Linked DNA regions of Homo sapiens: region 1 is linked to region 2. The links are contacts of gene promoters, found by promoter capture Hi-C in blood cells and fetal thymus (Javierre and others, 2016). All regions are on one chromosome and are shown on one strand. Each heading gives the region's core, a stretch centred on a gene start or on the middle of the fragment in contact. The rest is flanking DNA. Distances are from core to core; before and after follow the strand shown.

What was found. Contacts are between HindIII fragments. The CHiCAGO score rates a contact against its expected background, and 5 or more counts as called.
Region 1: a fragment that was not itself captured here is called in contact with the fragment with the promoter of ZNF771 in region 2 in 3 of 17 cell types (naive CD8 T cells, fetal thymus and total B cells); the score reaches 7.9 in naive CD8 T cells.

Annotation. Positions count from the first base shown.
Region 1 is chr16:30,121,224-30,123,923 of GRCh38, forward strand. MAPK3 (mitogen-activated protein kinase 3) reads right to left here and starts at 1,997. Exons shown (of 9, transcript NM_002746.3): 1 at 1,817-1,997; 2 at 601-783. The coding sequence starts at 1,986. RefSeq lists a silencer at 1,989-2,358. The HindIII fragment of the contact is 5,672 bases long and covers 1-2,700 here.
Region 2 is chr16:30,406,256-30,408,955 of GRCh38, forward strand. ZNF771 (zinc finger protein 771) reads left to right here and starts at 1,351. Exons shown (of 3, transcript NM_001142305.2): 1 at 1,351-1,409; 2 at 1,790-1,939. The coding sequence starts at 1,799. RefSeq lists silencers at 1,075-1,254, 1,277-1,486. The HindIII fragment of the contact is 8,204 bases long and covers 90-2,700 here.

The sequences.
Region 1 (2,700 bases), core at 157-2,656, 280 kb before region 2:
TCTGCCTCCCAAGTAGCTGGGATTACAGGCTTGCACCACCATGCCCCGCTAATTTTTTTGTATTTTTAGTAGAGATGGGGTTTAACCATGTTGGCCAGGCTGGTCTCCAACTACTGACCTCAGGTAATCTCCCACCTCAGCCTCCCAAAGTGCTGGGATTACAGGCGTGAGCCACCACGCCCAGCTGACAGTTTTCTTTCTCCCTGTCTCCCTTCCGGTCTGGGCAAGGAGGAAAGAGAGGAAAGAATCATCCATTCCTTAGCAAGAAGTGACTGTGGGCAGAGGCCAGGTCATGTCTCAGAACTGCCGACGTCAGAAGACACCACTCCCATAGAGACCATCCTGCCTAGCCCTTCCCCCTGGGGCACAGAGCAGAGAACCCACTTGCTCGAGGCCATACTGCCTGGGCCGCTGCAGGCCTGGGTTCATCAGAGGTCTCCAAGTCCTGTTACACTGTGGCTTCCCCTCTGCAGGAAAGTTTATTTTACTGGGTTTGTTTTGGAGGGTGGTGGGTAAGATGGAAACAGAAACCAAGCAACGGGTCCCCAGCCCAGCTGCGAGGCCGTGCCTGACCAGCCGACTGGCCAAGGTGAAGGATACACATCTCTCATGGCTTCCAGGGTGGACGCCCGCAGAATGTCTCGGATGCCGATGACATTCTCATGGCGGAAGCGCAGCAGGATCTGGATCTCCCGGAGCGTGCGCTGGCAGTAGGTCTGATGTTCGAAGGGGCTGATCTTCTTGATGGCCACGCGAGTCTTGCGCACGTGGTCATAGGCCGAGCTGAGGGGACCGGAGAGAGGCTGCTGCTGTGGCCTTACAAAGGGGGAGTCCGGGCCTGGTGGCCCCACCCAGGCCTTGGCAGGGAGGGGAGAGAGCAGGAGCTGGCTCTGGTCAAATCATAAACAATGCTGGTTCCTTCCTGCTGTGGAGGCCTGGGATCTCCAGAGAGAAAGCTGGGGACCAGCCAGGCGGCCCTTCGGTGACTTTACAAACAGAGGAAGAGACTGACCGCTCACTGACTTCCCCTCTCCTCAATCCCCTTCCATTCTACTGGCCCTGAACCCTTCGCCCCCATTCCCAGGAAAGGCTCCTTAACCCAAGACAGGTCCGGGGGTGCAGATGCTGGGGACACACCATGGGGCAAATACTGGGAAGGTGGCAGCCAGGGGAGGGGCAGGAGAGAATGGACAGGGCAGGGGAGGGTCCCAGGGTGAGGGATCCGGGCAGCGGGGCTGTCCCAGAGGGATAGAGGCCCAGAGCACACGGTGGGGCCGGGGGCACTCACAGACCCCTCCCAAAACATGCAGGTGGCACTCCTGGCCGCCTCATCTCTCTCTGGGCCCCTGGGGTGGTGGGGCCAAAGCCCTGCCCCACCCTGATCTCGGCTCTTCTCCCCCAGGCTCCCTGGCACTGCCTCACAGGGGGAATCCAAGACACCCTTTCCCCCAAAACGGGCCCTCCACTGCCTCTTCACTAAGGATGTCGCCTCCCCGAGAGTACTCATCCTCTGGGCCTCGCCCCGTGTCACTAGGGTCCCCGCGGGCCCCCACATGCACTCGGATGCCCCTCCCATCATTACAGAAGGGTGGACTCAAAGCCTCCAAGCCTGCTCCCCTGAGGACGTAGGCAGCGCCCCCTCCCCCAGAAAGCACTCAGGGGCCCCCTCCCTGGGACGCTCCCGATCATCCCGAGTCTCCTGCCTCCTCGGGACGCTCCGCGTCTCCACGTCCCGGAAAGCGCTCGGCGCCTCCTCCTCCTCTCCCGCGAAGCCCCCTCCCCTGAGGGCACCCCCTCCCCCGGAACGCCCCCTCACCTGACCATGCCGTACGCGCCCTCGCCGATGTACTGCAACTGCGTGTAGCGCGGGCCCACGTCGAACGGCTGCCCCTTCACCATCTCCACCTCCCCCGGGACCCCCGGGCCGACCCCCTCGGTTCTACGGGGCTCCCCGCCCCCGCCCCCCTGAGCCGCCGCCGCCGCCATCTCCACTCCTCCCCTCCCACCGCCCTCCTCCCCACGGCGGCCCCGCCCGAGGCCCCGCCCCTTCCCGCCTGCCTGTCACCCGCAGGGCCGCGCGCGCCAGGCCCCGCCCTTGCCCCGGCCCCGCGTGGGCCTGGAGCTGTCACGTGACCCGCCCCGCGCGCGCCCGCCCTTCTTGCCCCAGGTTCGGGGGCCATGGGTCCCTGCGGGCTCCGCGGCCTCCAGGTCACCGGGAGGTTCGGCAGCGCCGCCTCGGAGACTGTCCTCACCCTCCCCTCGATGGCGAAGCGGCCAGGGCGTGACCTACCAGAGCCACCCAGCCAATGTATGCGGCAGCCCACCAGAACCTGGGCCCGGGATCACCCTAGGTTAAAAATAATGTTCTAATAAATGGATCAAATTTTACAGATGGAGAATCTGAGAGTTAGGTTTACTAACTTGGGTAAGGTCACTAGTAGTGACAGCTGAGACTCAAAATGGTGTCTTCTGACACAGAGACTCTTTCTAATTCCATGCCTCTCAGAGTCCTAGACTGTTTTTATTTTATTATAGAGACAGGGTCTCTCTCTGTCGTCCAGGCTGGAGTGTAGTGGTGCAATAATTGCTCACTGCAGCCTCAACCTCCCTGGGGTCAAGTGATCCTCCCACCTCAGCCTCCCAAAGAGCTGGGACTACGAGTGCGCGCCACCACGCCCTGCTAATTAAAAAAAAAAATTG
Region 2 (2,700 bases), core at 101-2,600:
TCGGCTCACTGCAACCACTGCCTCCCCAGTTCAAGCAATTCTCGTGCCTCAGCCTCTCGAGTAGCTGGGATTACAGGCATGCACCACCAAGCTTGGCTAATTTTTGTATTTTTAGTAGAGACGGGGTTTCACCATGTTGGTTAGGCTGGTCTCGAAATCCTGACCTCAAGTGATCCACCGGCCTCCGCCTCCCAAAGTGCTGGGATTACAGGCATGAGCCACCGCGCCCGGCTTTGAAACGATTTTTTTTTTTTTTTTTTTTTTTTTTTTTTGAGACGGAGTCTCGCTCTGTCGCCCAGGCTGGAGCGCAGTGGCGCGATCTCGGCTAACTGCAAGCTCGCCTCCCGGGTTCACGCCATTCTCCTGTCTCAGCCTCCCGAGTAGCTGGCACTACAGGTGCCCGCCACCACGCCCAGCTAATTTTTTGTATTTTGTTTAGTAGAGTCGGGGTTTCACCGTGTTAGCCAGGATGGTCTCTATCTCCTGACCTCGTGATCCGCCCGCCTCGGCCTCCTAAAGTGCTGGGATTACAGGCGTGAGCCGCCGTGCCCGTCCGAAAAGATTTTTTAAAAGTAAAAATACCCTAAGGGCCAAACAAGGTACCCCTGTGGACTGGATTTAGCTTTGGGCTGTTGTTCACCTAGGCTACTGATTGTCAGGGATGCTATGACATCCTTATCGTGTAACTTAGGCAAATCAGTTTACCTCCCTGAACTTCAGTGAGCTCATCTGTAAAATGGATCAGGACCCATCGTTATGCGGATCAAATGAGACCAGGTATGTAAGACGCTGAACAGCGCTGGCGCATGGTAAGCACCCCACGCATGACGCGACAGCGGTAGCTTGGGTGGATGTTGAATTGGTTAGGATGTATTCAAGGATATCCCAGAGGCCAGCGGAATAGGCGAAGCCGAGAAAGATGGAGAAAAGACGGCAGAGGAGATAAAGAGGGAATGGAAGAAGTGAGGAGGCAACAGGGTCCGCCCTCCAGGCGGGGCGCCAGGGAGAGGCCCAGGCCGGGGCGGGAGCGCACGTGGCCTATTTCGGGCGGAGCAGAGGCACTGGGCGCAGCGGAGACCTCCAAGCCGGCCCCAGGAGACGGGCCGCGAGGTTAGGTTGGAACTCGGCGGCAAGGACCTTGAACGCCGGGCTGGGGCGGCTCCAGGTGCTTGGGAGTCGGGGGACTGCGGAGGACGCCAAGTCTGAGCTCGCCGCCCTCTCCGAGCCGTTTGGGCCGGACGCCTGGGTCCTTCGGGCTCCGCCCCAGGGGGTGGGGCTATATGTTCGGACCAATGACCGGCCGTCCCTGCGGTCCCGCCCCCTCCCCGCCCCCGGAGCCGCGGCCTCGCTGAGTGCCCAGCCGCCCGGCGCCCAGGCCTGGGGCACCGCGAGTGCCGAACCTTCGGCTGGTGAGTGCGCACCCCCTCCCCGGGGTTTCCGCCCCGATCCCGCCTCCAGCCCGTGCCCCAGAGCTCCAGGTCGCCGACCCGGGCCCTGGGGAGTGACTCAGCGCAAGGATGGTGGCGACTTGCGGGGGCTGGAGATTCGAACTGTTCAAGGCCTTGAATGCTGGGATGAGTGGGGTGAACGCGAGCCCTCGGAGCTGGTCCCGGGGCTGTGCCAGAGCGTGGGGCCGGGCTGGGGTGGACGGGAGAGGACCAGATTCGGAGACCAGGGCAGGGCGGGAGAAGCCACGGCTGCACTGCCTTGCTGGGCCAGGGCCACGGTGGGCGGGGGGGGGGGTGGGGGGGGGCGGGTCCTGAGCTTCTGATCCAGCTCCCCGCCTCAGGACACCAAGATGCCTGGCGAACAGCAGGCAGAGGAAGAGGAGGAGGAAGAGATGCAGGAGGAGATGGTGCTGCTGGTGAAGGGTGAGGAGGATGAGGGTGAGGAGAAGTATGAGGTGGTGAAACTCAAGATCCCCATGGACAACAAGGAGGTATGTGTCACACACACCCTGGGGCACACTGTCCCCAAACCTGGTCCAGGCCCAGCCTCCCTCAGATAGAAGCCAGGGATCTTGCCCCTACTTTTCCCAGAATCTCGGATCTAAAACCTCAGGATTGGCCCATCCTTCTGCCCTACTGCCTGGGCTTCCATCATACAAAAGTCACGCCTACTGTCCCAGGCTTCCTGCTGGGTGCAGGAGATTAAACTCCGTCCTTGGATCCCCCATGGAGCTTGATGTTAGACTGAAGGGTAACCACACAGTTAGAATCCCGTGTGATGGCTGCAGGTACAGGGGGATGATGAAGCCTAGAAGTGGGAACTTAACTCAGATTTAGAGGTTGGGGAAAGGTCAGGTTAGTTCAACAGCAACAGTAACAATAGCTAACCCTTGCCTAGCATTTTCTATGTGCCAGGCACTGTTCTAAGCACCTCGATTCTATGATGTCGGTAGCATTTATTCCATTTTACAGATGAGGAGACTGAGGCCCAGGGCAGTTTGGTAACTGGCCACAGGTCTCAAAGTAAAAGGATGGCTTATGTGAGACTAGTAGGAGTCTGGGGTCAGAAGTGGGGTGATGGACCCAGTCAGAGGAAATGGCTCTTTTATTATTACTGTTGTTATTGTTTGAGACAGGGTCTCATTCAGTCACCCAAGCTGTAGTGCAGTACAGCTCACTGCAGCCTTGACTTCCCTGGGCTCAGGTGATCCTCCCACCTCAGCCTCCCAAGTAGCTGGGACTACAGGCATGC